Linked DNA regions of Homo sapiens: region 1 is linked to region 2. The links are contacts of gene promoters, found by promoter capture Hi-C in human tissues and cell types (Jung and others, 2019). All regions are on one chromosome and are shown on one strand. Each heading gives the region's core, a stretch centred on a gene start or on the middle of the fragment in contact. The rest is flanking DNA. Distances are from core to core; before and after follow the strand shown.

What was found. Contacts are between HindIII fragments. The study calls those that stand out against the background at their distance.
Region 1: the fragment with the promoter of RNPEPL1 here is called in contact with a fragment that was not itself captured in region 2 in 2 of the 25 tissues and cell types used here (H1 embryonic stem cells and liver).

Annotation. Positions count from the first base shown.
Region 1 is chr2:240,566,895-240,570,817 of GRCh38, reverse strand. It overlaps RNPEPL1 (arginyl aminopeptidase like 1), which reads right to left and starts at 2,334. Exons shown (of 11, transcript NM_018226.6): 1 at 1,704-2,334. The coding sequence starts at 2,231. RefSeq lists enhancers at 610-1,248, 1,198-1,377, 1,249-1,887 and silencers at 1,648-1,697, 1,938-2,127, 2,268-2,327, 2,358-2,617. The HindIII fragment of the contact is 6,553 bases long and covers 406-3,923 here.
Region 2 is chr2:240,518,860-240,522,712 of GRCh38, reverse strand. It overlaps ANKMY1 (ankyrin repeat and MYND domain containing 1), which reads left to right. Exons shown (of 18, transcript NM_001282771.3): 9 at 2,180-2,351. Among named protein-coding and RNA genes, the nearest start is that of ANKMY1, 37 kb to the left of the region's middle. The HindIII fragment of the contact is 6,500 bases long and covers 1-3,853 here.

The DNA of each region.
Region 1 (3,923 bases), core at 1,085-3,584, 48 kb before region 2:
TGCCCCACAGATGGGGCACCAATCCCCGTCAGGGCACCCGGGCACAGGTGCTGATGGGCTGGTGGAAAAGGAACAAGGCTGAAGGGCTCCAGACGCTGCAGGGCAGGAAGAACGCTGTTCTTGCTGGGGTGGGGTGGGGGTGCGGGAATGGGCCCAAGCATCTGCAGCACCTCCAAAAAGCCTCTGGGGGCCTGGGGCCCACTGGCAGGGCCTCCCAGGGAGCTTCCGCTGCATCCTCCCTGGCACAGGGACAGGCTTAGGGATTTGGGCCTGAGTCCCTGGAACATGCAGGAAGAGAAGGGGACTCTACGTGTGGCCCCAGCCCCATGGCGCTCACATACAAAGGTGCATGCCTGAGGTTAGAGTCGAATACTCTGCCTTCTGCAAGTAGGGCGGCTCACAGGCCAGGTGACGCTAGGCCCCCTGTCCACAGCCTGCCAACCCTGACACCACGCAGACTTGGGGGACTATGCCACTCTCCCTGCCCAGAGTACCCAAGGGCCACCCAGTAGGCCATAGGAAGCCAAGAGACAATGGCCACCCTTGCTCACTGGGCCCCGTTCACAGCAGCCTGCTGAGGGCCCTGGTCCGGCCACTCTGCAGGCCAGTGTTGGGCGGACCAGACACGTGGGCTCCAAACACGGATCAAGGCCAAGGAGAAGCCCATCCCTCAGTTCTCACCTGTCATACTGGGAGGCATACTTGCCACCGGTCAGAGCCCTGGAATACCACAGCAGGGGCGGGGCCGGCTAGCCAGCGGCCTGCACACCCACAGGGGTTCTGGGAAAAAGGTGAGGTGGCAGGTCCTGCTTAGGGCTCCTGGGAAATGTACAGGAAGCCCATAGGGGTGCACTGGTCTGGGTTCTTCCTGCCCAGATGTCACCTTGGCTCTTTGTGGCCTGAAGCCTCTCGACCACCTCTCCACCACCCTGTCCATTTATGTGCCGTGACCAGTGACAGCTGGACTTCCCAGCGCCTCCACAGCTGTGTGTGTCTTGCATATGTCGGGTGTCACATGTGTGCCGTCCATACCACCTAGGGATGCAGTATGAACCCCCATGCTGTAGGCAGGAAAGGCCCTGCTCCATCCTGTACACATCCCCACTGGTGGAGGTGGAGGGGGTGCTGCAGCCACAGCGCCAGCCTCAGCCACCTGGCCTTTCTTGCAGAGTCTCTGGAGTGGTGGGTACCCAGTGTGCAAGCCCTGCAGAGCCTATGTGTGTCTATGTTGGGGTCGCGGGGCCCACTGGTCTCAACACTCCACCAGTGCTGGCCAAGGAAGCCCCAAACCGAGCATCACAATCTCCATGGCCCTTTCCTCTGCCTCTGGCTTGGACTCATCTGCACGCACTGGTCACATGGAGGCCCTTCCGCAGCTGACACTCCAGCCCAACCCTTGGTGCCAGGATCCTGCAGATGTACACCTCGGTGGGTGACAGAAGCTGCTCATGTCCCCAGGCAGGGACCAGACACCTGAACGGGAGGCTTCCCGGAGTGACATGCTGTCCCGTGTCCCCGCAGGACTCCGGCTTCTATCCGAGGGTCCTAAGGGCTCACAGGCAACAGCTGGGAATCACCGGGGTGGGGGGAGGGGGGCACCTGTAGGGCGCAGATTCGCGTCCCTCAGCCTGGCCGTGCGGCGAGAGGCCGCTAGCAGCGCCCTGCGGACCGGCCCGCAGCCCCGGCGCCCGCCCCGGACTCACGGCGGGGGCGTCGGTCGAGGTGTACCGCAGGATGACCTGGAAGGGCTGGTGCGCCTGCAGCTCGGGCGGCAGCGTGACGGTGAGCGAGGAGCCGTAGTCGGTGAACGGGTCCACCCTGAAGGCCAGCGGACAGCAGGCGGGCTCGGAGCCGGGCGCCTCGGGGAAGGCGGGCAGCGGGGGCGGCGGCGCGGGCCCCGGCCCGGGGGCGGAGAAGGCGAAGGCGCAGGGCGTCTCGGCGGCGGCGGCGGGGGCGCGACGGAAGGCGGCTGAGTGCAGGCGCAGAGCCGGGTGCGCGTCGAGCACGAGCGCGCGGGGCGCGGGCCGCAGCGCGCACAGCTCGAGCACCAGGCAGCCGGCCAACTCGCGCGCCTCGGGCCGCAGCTCCAGGCCCAGCTGCAGGTGGCGGAGGCGGAAGAGCTGCGCGCTGGAGGCCGAGGCCACGTCCAGGGCGGGCGGCGGCTCGGGCGGCGGGCGGACGGGCGCGGCCTCGGCGCCGGGCGCCTGGCGGCAGCAGCACTGCGCGGCCATGGCCGCCGGCACTAGGTGAAATCCATGGGCGGCGGCCGCGCCGGGCCGCGGGCGAGGGGCGCCGGGCGGCGGCGGCGGCGGGGCGCGGGCACAACAGGAAGTCGCGCCGGGAGCCGCCCGGCCCGGCCCCGCGCCGTGCGCCGCCCCGCTCGGGCTCCGCTCGGCCGCCGCCGGGGGCGCTGTGCGCGGGGCCGGGGCGCGGGGCCGGGGCGCCGGGCGGGGAGGGCCAGGAGCCAGGGGCGCGGGGAGCCGGGGAATCGAGCGCGGCGCGGGGCCGGGGCGCTGTGTTGGGAGCCGAGGCGCGCGGAGCGGGTGAGCAGCACCCCCAGCCCCTCGCTTCCTCCCCGGGCGGCGCCCGGGAGATCCCAGGAGGCGGGATCGCTGCTCCCTCCCAGACACTGCCGGCCAGGCCCCTGGGGCAGCCGCTGAAGGGACCCGGGAACCTTGGGGCCACAGGGGCAGGCTGCTTCCAGGTGTGGTTCGTGTTCCCGAGGAGCGCAGCGTCGCGAACTCAATGTCATCCTTTCATCCGGGGCTACGGGCAGGGCAGGATTCTCCTGGCACCCCTGCCACTCCTCCAAGTCTACAGGTGTGGTCTGTGCTGTGGGCCCTGCGGTGCGAGAAGCGCCGGAGCCTTCACGCAGCGCTGTCAACTACAGCAGCCACCAACCACGTGTGGCCATTTAGATGCGAATTAAATACAGTTAGAAGTTCAGTTCCTTCGTGGCAGGTGGAGTGAGTGAGTGTGTGTGTCTTCCTGGGAGGAGTGGCTAATGGACAAAGCAGGCAGGAATCATTTCCACAATCGCAGAAGTTCCTCTGGGCAGTGCTGGGGACCTCTCATTTGGGAGCCCTGTGCTGGGGTACGAAGGAGGGTCTGGCCCGCCTGTCCCCACCCCATCCGCCAGGTCCACCCTTCCCAACGCCATTCTCTGTGGACCTGGCGAAGGCTGCCCAAGGCTGAGCCTGTCCAGGAGCCTGAGCCCCGAGGGAAGGGGTGCTCGCCTGGCAGAAGCTGCTAGTGAGCTCACAGCGGTTAAATTTTGAGGCTGTGGAATAACAGGGGCCACCATGATGTCGCTGTTGTCATCAAGTAAGAATTCAAATTCCTAGGGACAAGGGGCTTCTGGGGCTGGGGAACTATCCAGGAACCCAGGACACCTCTCTCTTCTGCTCCATTGAGGTGTGGCCGTGCAGGGCTGGACTCGGGTACCGCACTCGACTCAGCGTCAGCCCTGAGTAGTGTTTCCTGTGTCTGGACTCAGTCTCCTCGTTGTGTAACCCTCTGTGTCTACCCTCCTTCCGTGGGGCGGGAAGGAAGGCTGAGAGGGAGAGTGTGCGTTCACGTTTGCGGGACAGAGCACTGAGGCATCATTTCAGTTTTCCCGTAGGACCTCAGGTCCCCACGTGCCCTCTTTAGGGACACGGCCACGATCTTGGGGCACCCATCCCAAACTCACCAGGAACCCCTAGGCTTACACAGTCACTCAGAGGTGTGGATCAGCCTCGCATCCAAGGCTGACAGGGAAGACAGCTGAGATGGGACCCTCCTCACTGCCCCCAGCGCCCTGCCCGGTGGGGCCCTGCAGTGCCAAGGGCAGACTGTTTTCGATGGCACCCCCAGTTCTACGGGGCTCTCCAGAGCCCACCGGGCCATGTTCCTGGCTGGAAGAACCTCAGTTCTGCACACGC
Region 2 (3,853 bases), core at 1,225-3,724:
TTCCCACACGGCCAAGTTCTGATGTTGAACCATTGCCAGGTGGGTGAAGATCCATTGACAGTGAGAGGTGGGCCCGTGGGCTTCAGTGCAGCCAGGCGCAGAAGGCTGGTTCATGAGTGTCCAGCTCCGCCAGGTAGCTAGCTCACCACCCCCAGCCTGGGTTCATGTAGTTCAAATAGGAAGACCACGATGATCAGAAAGGCTGCTCAAATACTCCTTCGTCCAGCCGCGTACCTGGGGGAGGCTGAATCTCCACTCACTTCCACCAAGGCTGTGCAGAGCAGATAGGGGAATCCAGCAAAGGTGGAAAACAGTGCCATCCTTCTCCCCAACTGGTTTTGTTTTGTAAAATAACTTTTTGTGACAGTGTTACTTATTAGTAACATGCAGTGGGTTTGTTATGGTTAACAAGTTGGTGAGCATTATTGAGAGGTGAAGCCAGCTGAGCTTCTGGGTTGGGTGGGGACTTGGAGAACTTTTGTGTCTAGCTAAAGGATTGTAAATGCACCAATCAATGCTCAGTGTCTAGCTAAAGGATTGTAAATGCACCAATCAGCACTCTGTAAAATTGACCAATCAGCGTTCTGTAAAATGGACCAATCAGTGGTCTGTAAAATGGACCAGTCAGCAGGATGTGGGCGGGGCCAAAAAAGGGAATAAAAGCTGGCCACCGCCAGGCTCCCCACCAGCCTGCAGCGACAACCTGCTTAGTTTCCTTTCTGTGCTGTGGAAGCTTTGTTCTTTCAGTCTTCACAATAAATCTTGCTGCTGCTCACTTTTTGGTCCGCATCACCTTTAAGAGATGTTAACACTTGCCAGTGAAGGTCCACAGCTTCATTCTTGAAGTCAGTGAGACCATGAACTCACCGGAAGGAAGAAATTCCAGACACACCATGTTTAAGAGCTGTAAAGGGGGGCCAGGCGCAGTGGCTCACTCCTGTAATCCCAGCACTTTGGGAGGCCGAGGCAGGTGGATCACGAGGTCAGGAGATGGAGACCATCCTGGCTAACACGGTGAAACCCCGTCTCTACTAAAAATACAAAAAATTAGCCAGGCGTGGTGGCGGGTGCCTGTAGTCCCGGCTACTTGGGAGGCTGAGGCAGGAGAATAACTTGAACCTGGGAGGCGGAGCTTGCAGTGAGTGGCATCGCGCCACTGCACTCCAGCCTGGGCGACAGGGCGAGACTGTCTCAAAAAAAAAAAAAAAAAAAAAAAAAAAAGCTGTAACACCGCGAGTTCCGCGACTTCATTCTTGAAGTCAGCGAGACCAACAACCCACCAGAAAGGCATAGATCCTGGACATGTTTTGACAGTTTTTGAGCTTTACATGGTAGCGGCAGACAAGGAGAGCCAGCACCCACGTCAACGCAGCTCCCTGGGCTTCCGAGTGGTCAGGGTCTGGAGACGGGTCTGGAGACTGGGCTGGAGGCTGCTGCTCAAGTGCTCAAGGACGATCTAGTTCCCGCGGCTCCGATTCTGTGCCTACTGCAGGGCCAGTGGGCTTGGCTCGATCCTACACCTGCCCTGCCCTCATGGTCATTCCCGCTGCCATCTGGGCCCCCTACCCCCAGTCCCCTCCTCCCTCAGCCCTGCGCGGCTGCACAACCCCCACCCACCTGGTCCCAGCCTCTCTTGAGGCCCAAGTTTTCTCTGGAGGCACAGTTTACTCCTGACCTGGCCAGCCTTTCAGTGACCCCTCAGAGGTGTGTGTGCGCCTGTGTGTTTGTGTCTTTGTGGTGTGAGTGGTGTGTGTGGTGTGTGTGTGGTTTGTGTGGTTGTGTGCTGTATGTGTAGTGTGGTTTGTGTGCTCTGGTGTGTGGTGTGCCGTGTGCGTACTGTGTGGTGTGCGCTGTGCTATGGTGTGTGCGCTCTGGTGTGGCTTGTGTGTGGGGTTGTGTGCTGTGTGTACTGTGTGGTGTGCTGTGGGTGTGGTTGTGAGTGTGCTGTGTGGTGTGCTGTGTGTGCCGTGTGTGTGCGCTCTGGTGTGGCTTGTGTGTAGTTGTGTGCTGTGTGGTGTGTCTGCGTGTGTGGGTGTGTGCTGTGTGTGTGATTGTGTAGTTGCGGCACACACATACTCCCTACGCGCCCCTCCCCAGCCTCCTCGCTGGCATGGCCCCGTTCTGGGCGCAGTGCAGGTGCCTGCCCTCCAGGGGCCCACGGGCGCACCGTCTTTTTCAGGCGGAGGAAGCGCTGGCGGACCATCAAGCTGCTGCTGCGCCGGGGCGCGGACCCCAACCTGTGCTGCGTGCCCATGCAGGTCCTGTTCCTTGCTGTGAAGGCCGGGGACGTGGATGGGGTGAGGCTGCTGCTGGAGCACGGGGCGAGGACCGACATCTGCTTTCCGCCGCAGGTAGGAGCCGCGGCGGGCGGGCGCCGGGACGAGCGCAGCAGACTCCCGGGCACTGGCCGGGAAGCTCCTCGCTCCACCTAGGCGCGGAAGAGAGGGGTGGGCTCTTGCAGGCGACCACCTGGGCTGTGAGTGATGACGGCGCGCCGCAGTGGGGGGTCCCACAGCCCGCTCTTTCACCCATGTCCCCAGACAGGATTTGGACACCGAGCTAGTTTTTAGAGTACTTCACGATCCGTGTGATTTTTTTCCCAGTGTTGAAGCAAACTAAGGGGAAGCGCATCCTGAAGGCCCCTTGGAAAGGGGAGACTTATATTCAGGAGGAGGCGGGCCTCCTTTCAACCCACGCTCAGCATCACAAGGACGCAGGCAGGAGAGGCAAAGGGTTTTGGTGCTGAGGTTTTATCTTTAGCTCAACAGATCCAGCCGCAAAATATTTAGCTGAGAAAAAATCTTCGAAGGGGAATCTGATTTTATATTTTTTTTCTTAAGAAGTGCCTTTCCCAGCGGACGGCTTCTTCCCTCTCTGAGGCCACACCCACCCGTGAGCAAGCGGCTTCACAGGGCATTTTGCTCTGGAATAAATTAGCCTGCTAGTTCTTCGAAGAAAGTTTAGTGTTTCTGCTGAGTTTCACTGGGGACTCAGGGCTTTATGGGCTTAGCTCGTTCAAACAACTCTCCTTTTCCCACCTGTCCCCCTGGGCAGTGTGTACCCCCGTGCTTGGCCCCAGATTCCTGCAGCCCTTCCCACAGCACAGCTGCTGGAAGGGCTTCCTTCCCGAATTTCCACTGCTCTGGAATGGAATCGGTCGCTGCCCATGACTGCTCCTCCTCTCAGAGGCGTCTGGGGTGAGGCCAGGCTTCTCTCGCAGCTCCGTCAGTCCATGAGGGCCTCGTTAGGTTCACAGGGGATGGGGCGAGATGGAAGTATGACAGCAAGCGTGGGCTCACTGCGGCGTTTCCTGTTCACTTTAACGTGACGTTATCTGTTGTATTTCATCCCTTTGCCTGAACCCTTGTTGTCATTCTTTCTCTTTGTATTTTGAAGGACCCTACAATCATTTCTCTAATTTAACATCTAGACCAACCCCATCACAATTTTCCGTTCAGTGCATCCACCCATCCACACTCAAGAAACCACTGCTGTCCACAGTGGCTGTGAAGATTCCAGATGGGTGACGAACTGGCACCAGGGCCACCTTTGGGTGCCCCCAGAACAGGGGGCCCATTATGCAGACCCATGATGGGCTTCTGTCCACTTGGCTGTGAAATTTATTTGTAGATTTTGTTTTTCTTCTCCGGTTGTGTAAACACTCGTCCATCGTTTCAGCACTTTACCTTCTTCACAGGGTGTTGATGGGGTGAGAGCTGATGGCTCTCTCTGGGCACCAGCCTTGCCAGTTGTCACTCAGGCGGCATTGAGTGTTTGAGGGCAGGCGGGTCTCACTGTCCAGGCCCCTTAGTGCACAGCCTTTCAGCTTGGAAATTAAACTTTTCTTCCAAGT